4 separate regions of the Homo sapiens genome follow, and all the other regions are linked to region 1. The links are contacts of gene promoters, found by promoter capture Hi-C in blood cells and fetal thymus (Javierre and others, 2016). All regions are on one chromosome and are shown on one strand. The core of a region is centred on a gene start or on the middle of the fragment in contact, and the rest is flanking DNA. Distances in the headings are between cores, read along the strand shown. Region 1 holds the start of LINC02086 (long intergenic non-protein coding RNA 2086). Region 2 holds the start of PRR15L (proline rich 15 like). Region 3 overlaps LOC124904017 (a long non-coding RNA gene). Region 4 overlaps CBX1 (chromobox 1).

The links. Contacts are between HindIII fragments. The CHiCAGO score rates a contact against its expected background, and 5 or more counts as called.
Region 2: the fragment with the promoter of PRR15L here is called in contact with the fragment with the promoter of LINC02086 in region 1 in 1 of 17 cell types (neutrophils); the score reaches 5.5 in neutrophils.
Region 3: a fragment that was not itself captured here is called in contact with the fragment with the promoter of LINC02086 in region 1 in 6 of 17 cell types (naive CD4 T cells, neutrophils, total CD4 T cells and 3 more); the score reaches 8.5 in naive CD4 T cells.
Region 4: a fragment that was not itself captured here is called in contact with the fragment with the promoter of LINC02086 in region 1 in 1 of 17 cell types (total CD4 T cells); the score reaches 6.4 in total CD4 T cells.

The regions. Positions count from the first base shown.
Region 1 is chr17:48,640,135-48,645,880 of GRCh38, forward strand. LINC02086 (long intergenic non-protein coding RNA 2086) reads left to right here and starts at 2,493. Exons shown (of 8, transcript NR_189645.1): 1 at 2,493-5,746. All of the region lies in intron 1 of LINC03057 (long intergenic non-protein coding RNA 3057), which reads right to left. RefSeq lists enhancers at 1,092-2,090, 2,091-3,087. The HindIII fragment of the contact is 12,737 bases long and covers 1-4,647 here.
Region 2 is chr17:47,954,432-47,960,177 of GRCh38, forward strand. PRR15L (proline rich 15 like) reads right to left here and starts at 3,452. Exons shown (of 2, transcript NM_024320.4): 1 at 3,226-3,452. RefSeq lists enhancers at 2,120-3,065, 3,066-4,011. The HindIII fragment of the contact is 8,015 bases long and covers 1-5,746 here.
Region 3 is chr17:48,011,766-48,017,511 of GRCh38, forward strand. LOC124904017 (a long non-coding RNA gene) reads left to right here. Exons shown (of 2, transcript XR_007065826.1): 2 at 328-475. Among named protein-coding and RNA genes, the nearest start is that of MIR10226, 18 kb to the right of the region's middle. RefSeq lists a silencer at 697-746 and enhancers at 3,260-3,761, 3,762-4,261. The HindIII fragment of the contact is 3,187 bases long and covers 1,821-5,007 here.
Region 4 is chr17:48,078,451-48,084,196 of GRCh38, forward strand. The region is part of intron 1 of CBX1 (chromobox 1); the gene reads right to left. Among named protein-coding and RNA genes, the nearest start is that of CBX1, 20 kb to the right of the region's middle. The HindIII fragment of the contact is 750 bases long and covers 2,107-2,856 here.

The DNA of each region.
Region 1 (5,746 bases), core at 1,243-3,742:
AAGTCCTTCTTTACACTCTGTGTCTAAACAGGCCACAACACAAGAGGCTGGGCGTAATTAGGAGGTCCCCCAGGATAGTCAGGGGTCACATGCTGTTTATCTCTTACAAACAAGATTACTAAAATATTAGGGAGCAAATCCTTCCCCTTTAAGTTCAGCATTTGGTATTCCCCAGCCTCTAACCTTGGCTAAATCAGCCCCAAGTAGAGCTGGGTCCCTGAGGAAATGGAATAAGTGAGTCAATAAGGGACACAAAGGAACATTCTATTGCCCAGTCCCCATTTGCTTGACTTATAGGCAGCTTTAGTTAGGAGGCTGTTTCCAGATAGTCTTCCCTTCCAGGAGTTCTGGTATGGTTTTTAGTCCCTGGGAAGCTGCTTAAGCCTGATTTCCTTCCATTGCTGGTCCAACTGCTGGCCAGTCTAAGATCAGCTTTCCCCAGCAAAGCTCTTCCCACGTTCTCAGGCTCCCAGCTGCTGGGAAGGAAAGACTGACTCCCACTGGGAGCCCAGACCCTACAGGTAATGGTGGGGAGAGGACACTGCCACCGGAGTGTTTTTACAGGTGAAGGCTGGCCTGGCAAAATGGAGATGTCAGCCAAGAGAAAGGGTGAAGACCTACGTAAACTGACTATATTTGGCCTCGGCATTTCCCAGACACCAGCTCCTTTGATCTATCCAAATTGTAGTTGTTAACTTGGTGTCTGAGGAGTCTGAAACTCTCTGAAATTGTGGGATTTGGTGAGTACTACATACGCACATTTTTTTTCTGGGTAGAGGGGAATCAATATTGTTCATCAAAATTTAAATTATCATATCAGGGAGTGGCCCCAAAATGTTAAGAACCTCTCATCCACCATTCTTACACAACCAACCAAAAATGTAATGCAGAGGGAGGCATTGTAATATACTTGGGGATCTGACAAGACAAATTAAAAGGACAAACAATTTATTGTTCCACAAGGTTGAACAGATACTGTCACCTGGACTTCTTGGAACACCAGGAACCAGGTCACAGGTGCTGGGGACTCTTAGACTGAGACCAGTCAGGCCACAACACCCAATCACTACCTCCTCCATATTTGCCTGTGCAGACAAGGAGTATGCAAGGTCTCTGTGTCTCTAATTAAATTAATATGGAGCTTTTATCCACTGGGGCCTGGACCTTCCGCCATTTGTCACCTTGTCCAAAGCTATCTCATACCGAAAGAGAATTGAACGTTTCAGGAAACACTTCCCCTTTGCAAATGCCCTTCTCTTGGGGAATGGGTATAGTGTCCAAATCTCCAGCTCCCACCATTTCTAGCCAGCCCTGAGGAATTGTCTGAGACCCGGGAGCCCAGAGATCATCAGCGGGGGCCAACAGCCATGACCTTTGAGTTTTCTTGGCCGCTGGGCCACAGAAAGGGTGCAAGAGGCAGCTGGACAGGTAGACAGAAGTAGGCACAAAGAAAGGGGCCCTGGACGGTTGCCAGAGAAAAGACGGAGAATGACAAAGAGAGAAGTGAAATAGCTGGACTGGAGGCGGGAACTGGAGCGCAGCAGGCAGGTGGAGTGGCCAAAACCCGCGTGCTAAGAAGAGCCCACAGGGGCGGCAGGGGCGGCAGGGGCGGCAGAGGCGGCCAGGCGCGTCTCCGTTCCCCATCTTTACGGGGAGGTTAATGACCTCCTCAGCGCCCCCTCGTCCCAAACCACCCAATTACAACTCCTCAGGCTCCTTAATGATCTGATTAATTGGTTGGTTAGGGCGGATGGAGGTGCTTCTCTGCCGGGGACCTGGCGGGGTTTCGCTAGATCATTTGTTAATTGTGGGAAGGAAGGACGCATCCGGGGAGAGGAGATCCAGGGCTGGAAAAGTGGGTGAGCGGCGCTGGCGCAGGCGGCCAGGAGAGAGCAGATGAACCGTTCGTTAGGAGCAGCGAGGTAGTCGTGAGCGCTGAGATCCAGAGACTAGGACCCACTCCCTCTCTGAGCAGCAAATTGGGAAGAAGATGCTCACTCGGTAAGGGCGAGGGAGCCCGGCATGGCGCCCCACCACGGGCTCGGTCTATCTGCGCGCCAAGATCCCGCTTGGGGCGAGGCGTTGGGTCAGCGTTTAGAGCCACTCCCTGCGCTGGTGGCTGGACATAGCCTCCCTATCCCACCTCATCTTCCCCCATCCCCGACAGAGGAGGTTGTGAATCTACAGGCCCTTGACGTTGAGGCGTCGGAGGGCGCACCTTTGTAATTGCGGCCTCCCTTCGCCCCTTAAGTGCCGCTTCTGGGCGCCTAGGCTGGATATGAAAGCCCCGTTCCTAATCCTCTGCTCTGGTCCCCTCCTCTGGACTGCTGGGACTCTAAGCTAGGCCCTCCCCAGGTTCCATCACTGCGGCGCCAACCCGCGGCTGGGCTGTCCGCAAGAGGGAGTTGAAGGCGCGCGGAATCCCGAGGTGCAGCTGACCCTCCTCTCAACGCCGACTCTGCCGCTCCCGCCCGGCCACCTCCCTGTCGGGCAGACTTCCTGTTCTCCTGCTCACAGCAGGGAGGCAGTCGCCGAGCCGGTCAGCAGCGTGCACGGAGATCTTCACTCTGCGCCCAGCCCCGGGACACAGGTGCAGATCTCCAGCGGAGCACTGCGGAGTGCGCGCCGTCGAGCACTAGGGAATCCTAGACGGAGGACTTGGTCCATTCCACGCAGTCCCAGGCAGGTCCGCAGCGGAGGGACGCAGCGGTCTCCAACTCCTGGTCACGACTTCGGCGACCCTCCACCCCCTGAGAGACCTGGTCCCACGGAGCTGTCCCCCCAGGAGCCGCAGCGGGAATAGCAAAGCAAAGGGGACCACTCAGCCCCCAGGAGGAGCCCTGAAGCAAAAAGGTTGCTGCGGGGAGCCACGTTCCCTCTGGTTCACCTCGAAGCCCAGGAGCTCCGGTCCCTGGACCAAGGAGTGAACAGACCTGAGGAAGAGGTAAGAGGAGGTTTAACGAGTAAAAATTTGGACTCTCTCCTCTTATACTGCTTTAAAGCATGAGGAATTTGGGCCCTGACTTCTCTCTCCTTGAAGAAGTTTCTCGCGTTCTGGCCAGTCCTTGCGTGTCTGCACCCAGGGCCGGCAACAATTTAAGGAGGAACTTTACTGGGTGGTCGAGGCTTGAGAGTTCATAGTTACCTTTTAAAAAAATCATTACTATTACTTAATATCTAGGTTATTTTGGACTGAGCCCCCATCTTCGCTCCAGCCCAAATTCGGCCTTTAACAGTACTAGGGAGTGCTTCAAAAGAGGAGGGTCGTGGAGGAAGCGACTCAGACGGCCCCAAGAGGAGAGATGGGAAGGAGTGAGGGCTTTGGCCTTAATGATCTCTGCAAGTTAAAGGCCATTATTCCTATAACTACAGCTGGGGAAAGGGCAGAGGAGGTAAGGACGGAAAGTGGGCTGAGGGTGGCCACTTTGGCATCTTCTTGAGAAAGGAGACATTTGAATTCCCGGCCCAACTAAAAGCCCTGAGATGCTTGCCCTTTGCTTTACAGACAGTGATGGCAAAGAAATACTGCCACCAGGGTGTTTTTAAAGGTGAAGGTTGACCTGATAAGCACTGAGATCAGACAAAGGAAAAAAAAAGTAAAGCATTTGGTCTTTCAGTTTTCTGGCTAAATCTGGCATCATTTTCCAGACACAAACTTCTCTGATTAATCCAAATAGCTCTCAACCTGAAGTTCAAGGAATTTGAAATCCTCTGAAATTGTGGGATTTCACAGTTCTAAAAGGAAGTCAGCTGTCACTTTCTGAGAAGCCCTGGGAGGGGAAGGAAGCAAGAGGAGGTATATGAGGAAAGGGGGTGAGAGGCCCCAGATCTAGCTCTCTAGACATTTAGTGCTGGACCCCCAAGCTCTGAAACTCAAGCTGACCCCATCTACACATTGCCAAACTGAGTAGAAAGTTGCAAGGCAGTCAAGGAGATAAATTTTATTTACTGCTTTAAGGATGAGTTTGGGTGTCTAAGCAGATTATAAATCTGGGTGTTTTCAGTATTTGTTTCTTTCTTTCAACTATTACTGATTTTTGGCCCAGAGTAGTTTCTGGGGCCCTTGGGGCAGTTAGGCAAGAGAGGGACTCAGACCTCCAGTCCCTTGATCTTGCCTTTACTTGGTGAAGAGCCCAAGATTCTCTACTGGCAGGCAAGGTCAGAACCAAGTTGGCCCTAGGCCTTGCCCCAACCCCCCAGCCCTCAGGACTCCTTTCTCTGAGACCAGGCCTCTGGCCAAACTGCAGACTCCCTCCACACCCGGTCACTGGAATAATGATGGCATTTTTGATTTCTCCCATTTTTGAAAACTATAGAAGCCCCAAGGAGGAAGGAGGTACCACTGGATCTTGGGGTGCTGGTGGGGGATTCTGGAATCAAATATCCTCTAAGCCTGTGAGGACAAGGTCTACTAGGATGACTTGGTGTCAATTACAGCTCTGAGTGCTGCCTGGATAGGTCAAATATTCCCTCCTTTCCCTCCTCATTCCTTCCGTTCAAGCCCAGAAAATTCACAGATTTTCTGTGTGGAGAGAGAGAAAAAAAATGGGCAAAACCTGGGAGTAAAAGGGAGATGAGGGAGAAGAAAATGAGGGAGAGAAACCAATAGACTAAAACAATGAAACTCTCTAACCCAACAGCACTTTAAGCTTGACTTTTAATCTGGCCAGAAAAAAAAAGAAGTTGGAGGCAGGGTGGGTGGGATGTGAAGTTCCCAGCCCAACAGATCCTCCTGTTGTCACGGGCTCTGTGCGTTCCCAGCTGGTGAGAACCCTGTCTGTCCTGGGGGTGGGAGGGATGTCCTGGGTCTTTCAAGTTGCAGTGTGGGGAGTGAGGCTCTTTCTAAGGGTCTCTGAGGTCTCCCACAACACCTTGCTTGGACTAGCAAAACCTTTCTTTGCATTTCCTCTGGGGCACTGTGTATGTGTATCCCTGTGTAGGGTGGTGTTCTAAACCACCGCAGAAGGTGAGCAATTCTCCTCCCAGCGAGCCAAAGGCTATATGTTTGGGGTGGAGGAGGCTTCATCCCTTCTGGACTGGAGAAATGGGGACTTGGAGCCAAGTGCGCCAGACTTTAGGGAAAGAGAGGAGCTCCAGCTCCAAAAGGGATTTGGAGGGAAGATCCTATCAGGAAAGGCCCCCCAGACTTGCTTCCTCAAAGGGTTAGGGAAGTGCACTGAGAAAAGAGAACTTTCACTTAACTCTTCTCCATTAGGCATCTTTGTGCTTCCATTTGTACTGGAAAGCACAGTCCTGGGCAGTCAGTTGCACATTCCGCCTCTGGTATGTGGACTATGTGAAATATACCATGCAATGTTCTACTTTGCGAGGGGGGAGGCATATAGATGAAAATATGAATTTCCCTTCTACTGCCTTTATTATTGAGCACAGTTGGGAGCACATAATTTCACATCTCTTTCGCATGTCTGTATAAATCCTCAATCTTTAAACGGTGCTTGACTACTCCGAGAGGCACAGTTGCTGTCATATAAGATTCCTAGCCGACTCCGGCGAGTTACTAATTCCTCTCAGACTCCACAATACCCACGATGCACGATGCACACCCCTTTATGCTTGCTTTTCTTTACATGCCTTTTCAAAGGCGAATAATTTTTGTATTGACCCATGAGTCAGTCCATACAGTTTGAAATCCTTTGGATGCCCTCTGCCCACTCCCATAAACAACAGGTCCCTCCACAAAAATGCACATGCCCCGTTTTTGTGAGTGTGGGTTTCAAATAAGATG
Region 2 (5,746 bases), core at 2,202-4,701, 680 kb before region 1:
AGGCAGAAAGCAGTTAGAAGGATCCCAGAAGTACAGGGGAGACATGGTCATCACAGGTTGTACCTTGCAGGGTGGGGCTTGGGGCTGAAATCCAGGCTTCTCCACTCACAGGCCATGTGTCCTGCCATGGAGCTGCCTTCCCTGGGGGCTCACCTTTGACTAATTTCCACAAAGGTACTATATGAGCTAGCGGAACTTCTCGGAGAGGAGGTTGCCTGGACATCATTGATTGCTGGGGTATGTAAGATAGAAGCAGATGACAGTCTGCTAGATGAAGGAAGATCAATGACAGAACAGGTAGAGGAACACTGATGACTGGTGAGGTCGGTGGTCTTGTTCTCAGGATGCCTAGCTGCCGGCTGTGAAAGCTCCCAGGAAGGAAGGCGCAGCCAGTGTACACCAGAAAGCTAGAGGGTATCACCTCCTTTTAAAAACTGGAAGTGTTCACTCCATTTTTGAAAAAGACCAGAAAGACACTCCAAATGATGTGCCTTTTTTTTTTCTTTTTTTTTTTTTTGAGACAGAGTCTTGCTTATTGCCCAGGCTGGAGTAAAATGGCATGATCTCGGCTCACCACAACCTCCACCTCCCAGGTTCAAGCGATTCTCCTGCTTCAGCCTCCCGAGGAGCTGGGATTACAGGCATGCGCCACCACGCCCGGCTAATTTTGTATTTTTAGTAGAGACGGGGTTTCTCCATGTTGGTCAGGCTGGTCTCGAACTCCTGACCTCAGGTGATCCACCCACCTCGGCCTCCCAAAGTGCTGGGATTACAGGCATGAGCCACTGTGCCCAGCCCAATAGTGCCTTTCTTTATGTAGGAGTAGAGGATGCTTTCTCTTCTCTAGTTTTCTGATTTCTGGAATTTCCATGATGAGTATAGATTATTTTAGGGGTGGGGGAGCATATCAAATTTAGGAAAGAGGAGAGCACGACGCAGGCCTAGACTTTACGATGAGCTGAATGCCTGCATCCATACCCCTCGTGCTCTGGTCTCCTGCTCCCCACCCCCTCCCTCAGAGCACACAGCCGGTGGATTCCTTCCCACCTCTCTGTCTGGGAAGCAGCTCCCACATTGCCAGCTCTGTCCCTTTAGCTGGGCTCAAGTAGCAAGAGAAGCTGAGGGGAGATCTTGTGCAGCTCCCGCTCAGAAAGTGAAGGAGCAGTGAGAGGGGCTCCATAAATACTTCCAGGGCACCCTGGAGAGGTGAGCACACCTAGGGACAGCCTGAGAGGTTTGTTTTGGCAGCTTGCCCCACCTGGGCTTAGCACAGCCTTGTACAGAACTTAGTGTTCCAGAATGGGTTTCTGGAAGGAGGTGGGGGAGAGCAGAGAAGGAGGAACAGGGCACTTGCTTGGTCTGTGGGTGCCCGAGTCACTGCCTTGTCTGGAATGAGGCCCACAGCCCCACCACTGCCCATTTGGGGCTGCCAAGGAACTTGGGGAATGGAAAAACAGAAGATCCAGCTCCTGAGACTATCATAACCACCAGATTTTCTAGCTCCAGAGAGAAAAGGGCTTCTGCCTGTGCCATTAAAATTCACCTGTTTTAACAGGTATTTCAAGTTGGCAAACCTGGGGCTTAACTCTCCTTGGCATAAAGGGAGCCACAGATCACGAGGAACTTCTCAGCAAACTGTAGAGATGGGAACAGCCCTTGTGCCCTGCCCTGGGGCCTCCACCAAGGCATCAACTCTGGTGCCCTTGCATCCTAGCCTTGTACTCTGGTCTCTCTAGAATACTCTGCCAGAGGCCAGGTGCAGTGGCTCAAACTATAATCCCAGCACTTTGGGAGGCTGAGGCAGGAGGATTGCTTGAGGCCAGGAGTTCAAGACCAGCCTGACCAACATGGGGGAACCCCATCTCTACTAAAAACACAAAAACACAAAAAATTAGGCGGATGTTGTGTCATATGCCTGTAGTCCCAGCTACTCGGGAGGCTGAGGCACGAGAATCCCTTGAACCCAGGAGGCAGAGGTTGCAGTGAGCTGAGATCATGCCACTGCATTCCAGCCTGGGCGACACAGTGAGACTCTTTTCTCAAAAAACAACAACAACAAAAAAAGAGAATACCCTTTTTGCCAGGCCTTCCTGTCTCTTCTGCCCAGGAGGACATGTGGGGACCAGTAAGCAGGTGTTTGCCCCATTAGCAAGCCTGACTTATGGAAATCTGAGTTTGCAAAATGGAAAAATTAGCCGACTATTCTTTGTTTTACAAAATAACCCAGCTGTAGGATCTGTAAATAGTCATCATAAAAGATAGTGTAAAATCTGATTTGCTTTAAAAACAAGCAAACAAAAAAGGTGATGTGATATCCAAACTTCCCAGTTTCTCAAAGTTGCAAAGAACAAGATATCTACAACCGCCTGCCTGTGCCTCACCACAGAGGGCTGAAAGGGGTTGGGGGAGTGGGGGCAGGTGCTTGGGACTTCAAACAGACCCAGCATTTAGTGACACATGGTGGGCCCTGCAGTTAGCTCGTGCAGGTTCCTGAGCTGGCCGAGCTAAGGGCTGGGCCCTTGCCCTGGGGCCTTGCAATCCAGGGATGATGGAAATCAGCCCCTGAGGATGCCAGCTTCACCTCTGCTGTTTGCACAGCTTTGGGGCCATGAAAGGCCTCATGGGACAGCCTGCCACCCCCTGTCTTTGGTGGCCAGCGCTATAGCATGCACATGGGTGTCCCAGGAGAGGCCCCTCCATACCAGCTGGGTTCTGTGAGCTGCTCTGAAGGGCTTTGCCCAGACTGAGCCAGGCCCCTCCTGAGCTGGGTCAAGTTAACCATTGACTGGGGCAGAGGTGGAGGGGCAGGGGGACAGATAGGGGAAGCAAGTCAGCTAATATGTTGTAAGACAAAACCCCAGAACTCCCTCCCCCATCCCTCTGCAGGGCCCCAATGGCACTTAGGGGGCCTGCAGGATGAGACAGGGGTACCCTGGATAGGAATGGGGAGATGTTCCTACCAGACAGCTGGAAAAATGCTCCAGACTGGGGGGTCAGAAGGGTGGGCTCCAGTTCAGCAAGGGTTAACAGAAAACTACTCAGCAGGAGCTCTGTTGGAGGCCTGGATTGACTCCAAGAGGCCAGTGGGATGAGTCTTGAGTGGAGACCAGGTTAGAGGCCTGGGTTCCTCTTTCCTGCTGGGCTTGTCAGCCCTGGAGGCAGAACCAGGTGCTCTGACTGGGGTCTATGCCTTGGTTTCCCCACCCACCAGCCCTCTGCCTGTACCTGTAATCCCGACTGCTCCAGGCTGGAGGTGAGACCTTTCCTAGAGAAGCAGTTGAGTGTAGGAGCTGCCTGGGAGGGTGAGACTCGGGAAGCAAGTGGTGCCTCCGGGCTGCTGTATCAGGCAAGGCTCAGCCAGGAGAGGTGGGTAGGAGCAGCTGCACGTCAGGTGCAAGAGAAACAGGTGCAAGAGCTGTTACCTGCTCTGCTGCAGCTCCTGGAGTCAAGGTGAACCTGAAACCCAGCCCCTCCCGGCTAAGTAAACAGAAGCAGAGGCCGGCTCAAGCTGATGAATATTCATCATGCCAGAAATCCAATCCCAGCGCCCCTGCATCCACCCAGAAGCCAGGGTTCTCCAGGGACCGCCACGCAGGAGGAGGGAATCCCAAGGGAGATCTGGGGTCAGGGAGCACAGGAGGCTCTCGCTCAGTTTCCCCACTCTTGGGTGTCTGGTTGCACTTCCCAGCTATAGCCAGGGTCACCCCACCCATTTCATCTTCTGAGGAGGCGCAGACCCCTCTCCAGCATGGACCACCACCTGGATGTTGCCCAGGGCACAACCAGGAAAGAGTTAAGGGCTGCTGCTTCCATTGGCAGGCTGGGTAGGACGGGGTGCACCCCAGCTTCCTTTGAACTCCCTGAGTCGAAACCAGTCCCGGTTAAACTGGTTGGCAGACCGGTTCCCAGGCTGTCCCTCCCCTGCCTCAAGCCTCAAAGTGGGGACTGGGTTGGGGGCTGTGGCTTCCTCCTGACCTGAAGAGCCCCTCTTCAAAAATCTCCCTAGGGAGAAAAAAAAAAAGGGCACAGCCTCTCCTCGGGCCAGGCTCTCCAGACCCACCACAACCTCAAACATTGTCATCCCTCTCCCACTTTGCTTGGAGGTGGGCTTCAAGGCCCTTGAGATCTTATGCAGAATTCCGTGTTTGTGGGCAGAGGGGCATTGCTTTTTCTGCATAGATTATACTTTTATCAGACTCTCAAAGAGACCTGTGCCAGTGTCCCCACTAGCAAAGTGCCACTGGCTTCAACTCCTCCCAGATGTCCAGCAGTCTATTGAAAGGGCCTTCCTGGGTATTATAAAGTTGGCAAAACCTGGAGCAAGTTCTCAAGGAAAGGAGAGATGGGTCCCTAGTGAGTCTGGAAGAGAAGGAAGGGCAAGAAGGCAGGGGATGGGCACACGGTTGGGGACAGGGGTAGAGTGTGTGTGCACAGGGGCCTTCGTCCTCACCGATCTGCAGTCTCATTGCCCCTGCAAACCCACCATTGGCCAAGCTGTGTGCAGCGCTCAGCCAGGGCTGCTCTTGCAGATGGCTCCGTGTCTGGGGAGCGTTGTTTTGCAGCCACCCGGAGGTGGCCTGTCCTATTTGCGCTTGCATTCTCTCTCCCCTCGGATGGGCATCGCTGGAGAGTGGAAAACATCTGCTACATACTCAGTGTCTCTGCCACTTCCTGGGCCCAGTGCTACCAGCTTAGGTGCCCAATCCACCCACCAGCTACCTTCCTCCATGGACCAGGTGTGCGTGTCAGGCAAAGGGTGAGGCACGGGGTAGAGAAAAGGCATAAAATCCCCCCTTTCCCTGGCTCTCCCTCTAAGTTACATTTGAAATCCCAGCTCACCAACTCTTAAAGCTGTCCCCCATTTCCAATCCTGCTTCTACTCGCTCCAGCTTCTGATGGCCTCTTGGGTTTGTATTCTCCTCCATCTGAAATAGCCCCCCTTCCCTTAAAATGTCCTTGGGTGGACAGTCCTCCAAAGCCTCCCCACAGCCCACAGCAGAACCCGCTTGGCCTGGCTCTCCTAGGATGGGGCCTCTGCAGCCTCCTCTCATGCACACCCACCCCTGCCAACTCTCCCTGAACACTAGGCTCTTCTCTGCCTGCCTTTGTAGGCATGAGGCTGCCTTAGAAGGGTGAGATTAGGAGTGCTGGCTGTGCTCTTGGGTAACAATGTCCCCCCCATCACCTGTGCGACCCAAGAGAAACTTCTTTTCATCCCTCAGAACCTGAATTAATGATCACACCTCCCACCCCGCCAGGAGTTTTCTTGTTTCCCCTTCTGTGTTCCCATAGAACCTGCTCATATACTTCTATTTAACATGATATATATACCATGATTGGTTTCCACTTACAGACTTTTAGCTCTTAGAGCCCAGAATTATGTATCACTGATCCAGACCAGACATACAGTAGGTACTTATGCAAGCTCGAAAACACAAATGAGAAACAGAAACATTGTTTTTACCCAAAGAAACTGTTAATGTAGCCAATTGCTTTGTCCCACTCTCCCTGGGGCAGGTAAATGTGCAAGAAAACCCATTTATTTGCCTTCTTGTGGTTCCAGCCACAGCTGGCTTGCTGTCATGCTATCATCTCCCTGGGGGGTGATTTGAATTGAAGGATATAATTTTGTAAGGTCCCCTACCTCTAGTGCAAAGTACACACAGCTGTCCCAGAAAGGTGCCCACAGCCTCCTAGATCTGTCACTTTCTATAAAAGCCTCGTCTACTCAGAGTGGATATCTGGT
Region 3 (5,746 bases), core at 2,164-4,663, 630 kb before region 1:
CCAGGGCCCAGAGGGGCAAACTGGGGAGGGGAGGGGAGACTTGTAAACATGAGTGCAATTTTCCTCTGGTTTCCCCAGAAGTTGCCCGTTTCCTGGGCCATTCCTCTCCAGGCAGCCCTCGGGAGTTCCCGCCGCACCGACCCCAGCCAGGCTCCAGCGGTCCCCTCTCTTCCATCCCGCCATCTCTCTGAGGGGCTTGCGTCTCCCTGATGCGCTCTGGTGTCTGTCTGAGCCATCCATCAAGGATGGCAGGCTGGGGGAAACATGAAAAAGAGCCTATTTGGCTATTAACATCCCCTCCCGCTTTGTTGTCTCTCTCCTCCCCAGTCCCCTACCAGCCCCTCACCCAACCCCTCCCTTTTCCCCTTTTGCAGGAGACAAAACCAGACTGACAAGCTGAAGACTCAAACATTAATCAAACTGCGCTCCGGAACAACCTTTCCCTCGCATTAATAAATACATTTGCGGCCCCTCATTGGACAGTTGGCCTAATTTGTTTCTTTTTCGCGGGGTGGGGGGAGCAGCCGCGCCCGCGCCCCCTGGCTCCCAGCAGCCCTGTGCAAAGCAGATGTTCCGCCGCAGACGCGGAGCTGCGCCTAGCCGCGCGCCCCGGAGGCCGCGGTTGCCATGGCGACGGCGGGGCCGCCTGCTGTCGCCGAGCACGCTGTCTCGCCCGCTCAGTGATTACCTCCATCTCCGCAGTGTTCGCCATACGGCCCGGATTCTAATCAGATCCCCTCCCCCCTCCCCCCTCCCTCCTCCGCCCGGCCCACTACCCCTTCAGCTCCCACAGCCTTGGGACTCATTGAGAACTGCCCGCGCATCCCTGACGGTGCCCAGGAAGGCAGAGTGGGGGAGAGACGACCCGCACTCAGCCTGTGTTTAGGGAGGACTGGACCCAGTGCGGTTCGCAAGAGGTTCTGTGTCCCCAGGCCATCTTTGGTGACATTGAACCCCGGGAGTCCAGCTCCCAGCACTGTCCCCTGAAGACTCCTCCTCCTCCCCCTTGGTATGTTGAGGCAGGTCACCTGAGGTCCCCAAGAGAGGTAAGGCAGGCAACCATAGTTCCCCTTCCATCTGGACAAGACTCTTCCATTCCCGTTCTGTAAGTGCTGGGAATGATTTCATCTGCACAGCCTGGAGGTGGGCAGGGTTTCTGGAACCATCAGAGCATCAGCCCAAGCCATGCTTCTTGTGCTAAACGCAGTGGTTTCTCAGACTAAAGGGAGGAGTGGAGAAGCACAGGTCTGGTACTCTAGCCACTCAGGCCTGGCCTGAGTTAGGCCCATGGTTATTTGACCCCCTCCACATCACACACACACTATGCTTTCCATGCTTCCAGGCTGAGGGTGGTTTTTTATAGGTGGTCTCAGATGTACCCCCGGCTGGCAGCCTTGCAAGGGATGCACTGCGAACCCTCTCCGGACTTAGTAATGAACAAGGGGCAGTGCGATGCCTCGGGGCCTTGGGGTACCTGGCTGTCTTTCTGTTAGGGGAGGAGGGTCCTTTCCCTGAGACTCTGAGGCTTCACTATAAGATCCCAAGCATAAACATCCCTGGCTTTAGGAGAAACGAGGTAATAACAGAAGCCAGAGGCAAGAGAGCACAGAGAGGTTGGGAGTGAGGCCGGCAGGGAAGAAGGCAGATTTGGGACAGGAAGATGAGATTCTGGGTTCAGATTCCACCTTCCAGCCTAAATCACAAGGCAGGAAGCCTGAGGTGGTTGGCGTAAAAAATAATTTTGCTCAAGGGGAGGAACCCTTTGGAGTGACGAAAAGTAGAAACACTCATGTTCCAGAAGTGTTACCAATGCCAGGGAAAGCTTGCTTAAACACTCTCACAACATCCCAAATGCCAGCCTCCTTCCAATGTTCGCCGGAAAGTTCTGAGCCGTATTAGCAAATAAGAAGAAATGCCAGGCTGAGCTCTCTCTCCGAGGCTACTAAGAATCCTCATGCTAGAGCTGCAAGGGCCTTTAGAGATCTGGACCGATCCTTCATTTTACAGATGAAAAAACTGAAATCCAGAGAGGAATGACAACTGGCCAAGATCCCACAGCTAGAAATAGTGGAACCAGGTTTTTATTTCTGCAATAGTGGCCACTGTTCTGCCCTCTTTCCTCTCTCAGAGGCAACCAGCTGGGAAACTCTGGTTTCCAAGTCCTCTCTCAGAGGCAACCGGCTGGGAAACTCTGGTTTCCAAGAGGCACAGACAGAATCCCAAAAATCTCAGGCCTTTCCCAGCCCCTAGTCACCCTGCCTCCTGAAGGCCTGTCACCTACCTGAAGGCAGCTCCACTAGAGTGACAGCTCCTGTTGGCCCTGGCTGGCTCAGGGCCTCTGGGGAGGGTATGGGGGGATGGTGGGTTGGGAGAGAACTTTTGTGGGGCCTCCTTCAGTCAATGGTCTACAGCTCTGTCTTTGTCTGTCTGTCACTCAGAAGGGAACTGCTGAAGGGAGAGGTCAGGCTGGTCGGTAGAAAGGGAGAAAGAGGCCTATCCCTGTCAGAGAGGGGTTGGGAAGAAGGCAGGCAAGGGGACCGAAGCTCCTTCAACCTCCTCATCCTCTCCCACTCCAACTCCTGGGCTGTTTCCCCTAGGGAATTCCAGGCTTTGCTCATTTTAGGACCAGGGCAGCAACTGCACACAAAGGCCCTTCTCTTCTTGCCGTGTGAAATCCTGGCTCCCCATTGGAGAGCTACTCCCTTACCCTGCCCTGTCTGCAAGAAGAGGCTGCCAAGGGGTCTAACTCAAACCTACAAGGCAGGGAGTTCCATTGCGTTCCCCTTCCATGCAACCAGCACCCTGACTCCACCCCTGTGCTTGCCCGTGTCCCTGCTCGCGCCTGCCACATCAGATTCCCCAGGCTCCCTCACCCCCCCGTGCAATTTAAAGCAGATTCATCCCCTGAGAGCCCCAGTTTCCAGGCCACCCTAGCTTCTACTGTACACTATCCTATCTCCCCAGATTGTGCTGTTTCCAGTCTCCCCTTGTTCCCTCTGCACACGAATCTTCCTCCCCAGATTCAACTGTTTTCAGGCTACTCCCTCTGTCTGCCCCCTGTACACGACTGTCTCCCCAGATCCTGCTGTTTCTAGGTTCCCCCATATTTCCCCGGTATACAAATTGGCCTCCCTGGATTCAGCAGTTTCCAGAAGCCCCTTGCTCTCTCACTAGGCAGTTCCATCTCCCCAGATTCAGCTGTTTTCAGGCTCCCTTCATTTGCCCTGTACACAGGTACCCCTCCCAGGTTCTGCTGTTTCTAGGCTTCCCGATTTCCCTTGTATACGCATCAGTTTCTAGCTTATGTTGATCCCAGCTGCCTAAGGGATTCAGCAGGTTTAGGGAGAGTGGAAGGAAGAAGAGAGTCAGAAAGAGGAGGAGAAGAAAGATGGTCATCAGGGAAGCTCCGGATTTCTCTTGTGACCCTAAGCAGCTTGCATATGACAGCCTCTGGGCCTCTGCCTCTACAAATAGGTCCCTTAAGGCCATCTGCCCTGGGATACCCCAATCCCCTCCCCATTGCTGCTGCCCAGGATCTGAGCTTTAAGTTGGACATCCTCCGGAGGGCCCCCGTCTTGGCAGGAGTGCTTATGCTTGCATGAGGTGGGACAGGCAAGAGCCTTCCCAAGCCAGGAGTTCCCTTGTCTCTCCTCTGCTATTTCCTTCTTGCCTTCCCAGCACCCACGCCCGCCCCCTTTTTTTTTTCTTTTTGAGTTGGAGTTTCACTGTGTCGCCCAGGCTGGAGTGTAGTGGCGTGATCTCGGCTCGCTACAACCTCTGCCTCATGGGCTCAAGCAACAATCCTGCCTCCGCCTCCGGAGTAGCTGGGACTACAGGCGTGTGCCACCATGCCTAGCTAATTTTTGTATTTTTAGTAGAGACAAGGTTTCACCATGTTGGCCAGGCTGGTGAACTCCTGACCGCAGGTGATCCACCTGCCTTGGCCTCCCAAAGTGGTGGGATTACAGGCGTGAGCCACTGTGCCCACCCCCACCCCTTGTCTCTTTCTCATGTGTTGCACCTTAGCTCTCCTCAATTTATCCACATACAATTTATTTTATTTTATTTATTTATTATTTTTTTTTTGAGATGGAGTCACAAAGTGCTGGGATTATAGGCGTGAGCCACCACGCCTGGCCTTTTGTTTTATTTTTGAAACAGTCTTACTCTGTCGCCCAGGCTGGAGAGCAGTGGCATCATCTCATCTCACTGCAACCTCTGACTCTGGGGTTCAAGTGATTCTCCTCCTTCAGCATCCTGTATCCACATAGAATTTAAAGGAAACTCCAAATGCACTCCCAGAACTAAAGGGAGTACAGAACTAAAGAGTCACACTTTTTTTTTTTTTTTTTTTTTTTTTTTTTTCAGTTTTCAAGATGGAGTAGTATCAATCTCAGGCCCTGGAAACTGCCCCTGGACTAGTTTCCTGGCATGCTTCTCCAGCCTTTGTAAACAACTGTTTCATCTGCAGACTCCCTGCATCCTAATCCTCCTTGGGGCTGGAGGTGGGAGGGTATGGGAAGTGTTCTGCAAGGTACTCCAGTCTTCTTATCTTCTCTGACTCATTTAGCTACTGCCTGCAAAGTTTCCACTGGAATCTGGGGAAATGGTCTGATCCCTCATCGCCTTCCTCCATATACAGCTGCCTACCCATTAGACTAATCCCAGCCATTTGTCAGTCACGATGCTCCATCATACTGGCCCCAGCAAACTTTCTGGTTTCACTAAGAAATAAATAGGAAGGGCAGGCCCACTGGGTCCAGGATAGTGCCCTACAAGGAGACCTTTCTTCAAAATGAAATCCATACCTGGGTTCAGGCCGCATTGCTTCTGCTCCCAGCACCCGAGAGCATCCTCAATCACCTCACAAGTGGGAATGACAACGCCTGCCTCCTTCACTGAGATAGAGGTACAAAAAAATTACATGTGTGAAAGAAATAGAATACTTTTACGGATCCTGACAAATGTGAGTTTACATAAATCCTATTAAAAGAACATTGTGCAAGAAGCTTTTCTGTGTCTTGTATATAAATTATCCTCAGAAAAGAAGTGCAGCTGATGGGACTCACTTATTAATTTCATTATTTAAAAAACAGACGTGCTGGGCGTGGTGGCTTATGTCGGTAATCCCAGCACTTTGGGAGGCCAAGGCGGGAGGATCACTTGAGGTCAGGAGTTTGAGACTAGCCTGGCCAATATGGTGAAACCCTGTCTCTACTAAAAATACAAAAATTAGCTGGGCATGGTGTTGTGTGCCTCTAGTCCCAGCTACTTGGGAGGTTGAAGCACGAGAATCACTTGAACCCAGGAGGCACATGCAGCAGTGAGTCAGGATGGCGCCACTTACTCCAGCCTGGGCGACAGAGCAAGATTCTGTCTCAATAAATAAATAAATAAATAAATAAATAAATAAATAAATAAATAAAATAAAAATTAGAAAACGCTATTGGAGCCAGCCATGGTGGCTCCCAGCACTTTGGGAGGCCGAGGTGGGCAGATTGCTTGAGCTCAGGAGTTCGAGACCAGCCTGGGCAACATGGTGAAACCCCGTCTCTACTAAAAATACAAAAATTAACCAGGCATGGTGGCAGGTGCCTGTAATCCCAGCTACTCAAGAGGCTGAGGCAGGAGAATTACTTGAACCTGGGAGGTGGAGGTTGCAGTGAGCAGAGACTGTGCCACTGTACACTAGCCTGGGTGATAGAGTGAGACTGTTAAAAAAAAAAAAAGCATGCAAAGAAAAATG
Region 4 (5,746 bases), core at 1,232-3,731, 560 kb before region 1:
CAAAGTGCTGGGATTACAGAGCTGAGCCACCATGCCCAGTCTGTTTTTGTCTTTTTGAGACGGAGTCTCAACTCTGTGAGCTGGGCTGGAGTGCAATGGTGTGATCTCAATTTACTGCAACCTCTGCCTCCCGGGTTCAAGCGATTCTCCTGCCTCCACCTCCCGAGTAGTTGGTTTTACAGGTGCCCGCCATTACGCCTGGCTAATTTCTATATTTTTAGAAGAGACGGGGTTTAACCACGTTGGCCAGGCTGGTCTTCAACTCCTGACCTCGTGATTTGCCTGCCTTGGCTTTCCAAAGTGCTGGGATTACAAGCGTGAGCCACCGTGCCTGGACTTTTTTTTTTTTTTTTTTTTTTGAGACGGAGTCTCACTCCAGCCCAGGCTGGAGTGCAGTGGCACAATCTCGGCTCACTGCAACCTCTGCCTCCCGGGTTCAAGTGATTCTCCTGTCTCAGCCTCCTGAGTAGCTGGGACTACAGGTGTGAGCTACCACGCCCGGCTAATTTTTGTATTTTTAGCAGAGACAGGGTTTCACCAACGTTGGTCAAGCTGCCAGGCTGGTCTCAAACTCGTGACTTCGTGATTCACCCGTGCTGGCCTCCCAAAGTGCTGGGATTACAGGCGTGAGCCACCGAACCCAGCTCCAGCCCCGGCCCCGCACCTCCCCCTCTTTGAGATGGAGTCTCACTCCAGCCGGGCTGGAGTGCAGTGGCACAGTCTTGGCTCACTGCAACCTCCGCCACCTGGGTTCAAGTGATTCTTTTGCCTCAGCCTCCTGAGTAGCTGGGACTACAGGTGTGTGCCACCATGCCCAGCTAGTTTTTGTTTTTTTAGTAGAGACAGGGATTCGCCATGTTGGCCAAGCTGGTCTCGAACTCCTGACCTCAAGTGATCCACCCGCCATGGCCTCCCAAAGTGCTGGGATTACAGGCATGAGCCACTGTGCCCAGCCATGTTCTCTTGTTCTTTATGCAGTCTTTTCTGAATTGAACTTACGATTCACAAATTTCTTGTTAACTTATTGTATTTAGTTTATTTTACAACTTTTTTTCTTTTTTGAGACAGTGTCTCACTCTATCACCTAGGATGGAATGCAGTGAAGTAATTATGGCTCATTGCAGCTTTGACCTCCTGGGCTCAAGTGATCCCGCTGCCTCAGTCTCCTGAGTAGCTGGAACCACAGGTGTGCGCCACCATGCCTGGCTAATTTTTTAAATTTTTAGTAGAGACAAGTTCTCAATATGTTGCCCAGGCTTGTTTCAAACTCCCAGGCTCAAGTGATCCTCCCACCTCAGCCTCCTACTGGGATTACAGACATAAGCCATCACACCTGGCCTCCAATTTATTTCTAAAAACTAAGGAAGAGTCATAAAAATGCCAGAATGATCATGAAATTCTCTAAACTGGAACCCTGTAAAAATTTGGAAAACAAGTGTGGGGAAAACAGAACTGTAGTTATCAAAGATAATAGAATCTGAGTTTACTCCTTTATAAAATACATCATCAAGCTAGGTAACATCTAAGGGTTTTTCCAGTGTTGAAATTTTAGTCCCTTATAAATCTATTTTATTTAGTCCTTCATCCAAATTTGACTTTTTTGGGGGAGGGGGACACAGTCTCCCTCTGTCGCCCAGGCTGCAGTGCAATGGTGCTATCTCGGCTCACCTACGCCTCTAGGGTTCAAGTGATTCTCATGCCTCAGCCTCCTGAGTAGCTAGGACTACAGGCACCTGCCACCAGGCCCAGTTGATTTTTGTATATTTAGTAGAGATGGGGTTTCAGCATGTTGGCCAGGCTGGTCTCGAACTCCTGACCTCAAGTGATCTGCCCGTTTTGGTTTCCCAAAACTCTGGAATTAACAGGCATGAGCTACCGTGCCCGGACCCAACTCTTTGACTTCTGACAGACTTAAAGCCTTATGATTACCAATTTTTGTCAGTAGATGGCACTGTATCAATGAAACAAAATTGATCAACAAAACTGGCCAAAGAATTACCTGGATGGCAGGTAATCCAAGACAAGGAAGAGTTACGTCTCCGCTTGAGTTTAAAATAATACCAATTTGAGGTTAAACTGGTTATTCCTAGCATCCTTAGGAAAGGAAGCTTACTTAGTGTAATCATTAAGTTTTCTAAACACTGTAAAACTGGCATGTATAGACAGAATGCACTTAGAGTCCATCTACAAGGCTGGGTGCGGTGGTTCACGCCTGTAATCCCAGCACTTTGGGAGACTGAGGCAGGCAGATCACAAGGTCAGGAGTTCGAGACCAGCTTGGCCAATATGGCGAAACCCCATCTCTACTAAAAGTATAAAAATTAGCTGGGTATGGTGGCGCTCGCCTGTAGTGCCAGCTACTCGGGAGGCTGAGGCAGGAGAATTGCTTGAACCCGGGAGGCGGAGGTTGCAGTGAGCCGAGATCGCGCCACTGCACTCCAGCCTGGTGACAGAGCGAGACTCCATCTCAAAAAAAAAAAAAAAAAAAAAAAAAAAAAAAAATATATATATATATATATATATATATATATATATATATATATAAAATTTGTCTTAGAAAAATAAATAGCATTTCTTTTTGAAAAGTTTAATCTATTTATTTGCTTATTTAGAGACCAGGTTATGAGACTGCCTAATTTTTGTATTTTCGGTAGAGAAGGGTTTTTGCCATGTTGCCAATGCTGGTCTTGAACCCCTGGGCTCAAGCGATCCACCTGCCTTGACCTCCCAAAGTGCTGGGATTACTGGCATGAGATCTGGCCAAAAAATAAAACAGCACTGACTATTATCCACCTGATCCTTCTGCTATGAGCCGAAAGGGTCAGCATAGCTTCTAACTGATCTCTACCTACTGCAAGCTTATCCTCCCTTTATCATTAATTAGCATGGCCTCAGAGAGGAACAGTCATAGAATGGCATAATTGTTAGGTAAAGAAAGCGCCCAAATGGGGAAATCTAAAGTAAAGCATTCTCATGACTTCGATCTTTACTCACTTTTATTTTTTGAGACAGAGTTTCGCTCTTGTCGCCCAGGCTGGAGTGCAATGGAGCACTCTCAGCTCACTGCAACCTTCACCTCCTGAGTTCAAGCGATTCTCCTGTCTCAGCCTCTCAAAGAGCTAGGATTACAGGCGCTCACCACCATGCCCAGCTAATTTTTTTAATACTCTTAGTAGAGACAAGATTTCACCATGTTGGCCAGGCTGGTCTCGAACTCCTGACCTCAGGTGATCTGCCTGCCTCGGCCTCCCAAAGTGCTGGGATTACAGGCCTAAGCCACTGAGCCTGGCCCTTTCCTTACTTTTTAAGTACTGTCTTAAGAGCAACTCAAATAAGAAGAATATAGAAAACAGATCCCCGCTTCTTCCTGAGCTTTCTTTACTGGCTCATCCCAGAGCATCTACATCCAGAGATACTGTATTACTGGAGATTCCCAGCCAGCCTTCCCAACGTGTTTTTTTGTTTACAATTAGTTCTCTAGGGTTTCAAGAAAGCTATTTGTCAAAATCAGTAGAGAGGTCAGGGCTCGGCAGCACACACCTGTAATTCCAGCACTTTGGAAGGCCTAGGCAGAAGGACTGCTTGAGCCCAGGAGTTTGAGACCAGCCTGGGCAACGTAGTGAGACCCCATCTCTACAAAAAATAATCAGCTGGGTGTGCTGGGAGGATCGCTTAAGCACAGGAGGTTGAGGCTGCTGTGAGCTGTGATTGTGCCACTGCACTCCAGCCTGGGTGAGGAAGCAAGACTGTCTTTAAAAAAATGATAAAGAGGCTGGGCGTGGTGGCTCACACCTGTAATCCCAGCACTTTGGGAGGCTGAGGTGGGCAGATCACGAGGTCAGGAGATCGAGCCCATCCTGGCTAACACGGTGAAACCCCATCTCTACTAAAAATACAAAAAATTAGCTGGGTGTGATGGCGGGCACCTGTAATCCCAGCCACTCGGGAGGCTGAGGCAGGAGAATGGCGTGAACTCGGGTAGCGGAGCTTGCAGTGAGCCGAGATCATGCCACTGCACTCCAGCCTGGGGGACAGAGCGAGACTCCATCTCAAAAAAAAAAAAAAAAAAAAAAAAGGAAAAATGATCTATAATTTTATTTATTTTTTTGAGATGGAGTCTCTGTCGCCCAGGCTGGAGTGCAGTGACGCAATATCAGTTCACTGCAACCTCCACCTCCCAGGTTCAAATGATCCTCTTCCTTAGCCTCCCGAGTAGCTGGGACTACAGATGCACACCACCACTCCTGGCTAATTTTTTTGTATTTTTAGTAAAGACGTGGTTTCACCATGTTGGCCAGGCTGGTCTCAAACGCTTGACCTCAAGTAATCCGCCCACCTCAGCCTCCCAAAGTGCTGGGATTACAGGCGTAAGCCACTGTGCCAGGTAATTTTATTTTTTTTTAATGACACAATTATCTTTTTTTTTTTTTTTTGAGACGGAATTTCGCTCTTGTCACCCAGGCTGGAGTGCAACAACGCGATCTCAGCTCACCACCACCTCGGCTTCCCAGGTTCAAGCGATTCTCCTGCCTCAGCCTCCCAAGTAGCTGGGATTATTGGCATGCACCACCATGCCCAGCTAATTTTGTATCTTTAGTAGAGACAGAGTTTCTCCATGTTGGTCAGGCTGGTCTTGAACTCCCAACCTCAGGTGATCTGCCTGCCTCAGCCTCCCAAAGTGCTGGGATTACAGGAATGAGCCACTGCACCTGGCCTAATTTTTATTTATTTATTTATTTTTTAAAGACAGGGTTTCACTATGTCACCCAGGCTGTTCTTGAACTCCTGGACTCCAGTGATCCTCCCGCCTCAGCCTCCCAAAGTGCTGGGATTACATGTGTAAGCCATCATGCCTGGTCAATTACCACTTTGTAAATTCCACCTGCACCCCTATTGTCAGGGGTACCTAGTGGCCTTTCCAGAATCCTGTGACACAAACTGGTTTGTTGTACCTTCTTGGCTCTTCCTAAATCCAGTCCTACTTAATTTTTAGCTTTTTCTGGTCAGTAACTAGTTTTCCAGCTGTTTTCTGACATCTCTACTTGTCTTTTTCCTATTTTTCTTGTCTCTTTAAAAATCTTCTTATTGGCCAGGTGGCGTGGTGGCTCACGCCTGTAATCCCAGTAATTTGGGAGGCCGAGGTGAGCGGATCACTTGAGGTCAGGAGTTCGAGACCAGCCTGACCAACATGGTGATACCCTGTCTCTGCTAAAAATCCAAAAAATTAGCTGGGTGTGGTGGTGGGCGCCTGTAATCCCAGCTACTTGGAAGGCTGAGGCAGGAGAATCGCTGGAACCTGGGAGGCAGAGGTTACAGTGAGCCGAGATTGCGCCATTGCACTCCAGCCTGGGCGACAAAAGCGAAACTCCATCCCCCCTCCAAAAAAAAAATCCTTTGACCATTACTTGTGTGAGATTTTCAAAAGGAGTAGAACCATGTAGTTCAACCAGCCATGTTTATCTGCAAAGTTTCACTGAAGTATCTAATAATAGTGAGTGCTTATTATGTGCCAGGTACTATTACAAACACTTTACTCATTTATTTAAAAAATTTTGTTTAGACACAGGGTGTCGCTCTGTTGCCCAGTACGGTGGCCTGATCATAACTCACTGCAGCCTCGACCTCCTGGGCTCAAGCCATCCTCCCAAGTAGCTGGGACTACAGGCTTGTACCACCAAACCTGGCTAATTTTTTCAATTTTTTCTGGTGGAGACAAGGTGTTCCTATGTTGTTCAGGCTTCTCTTT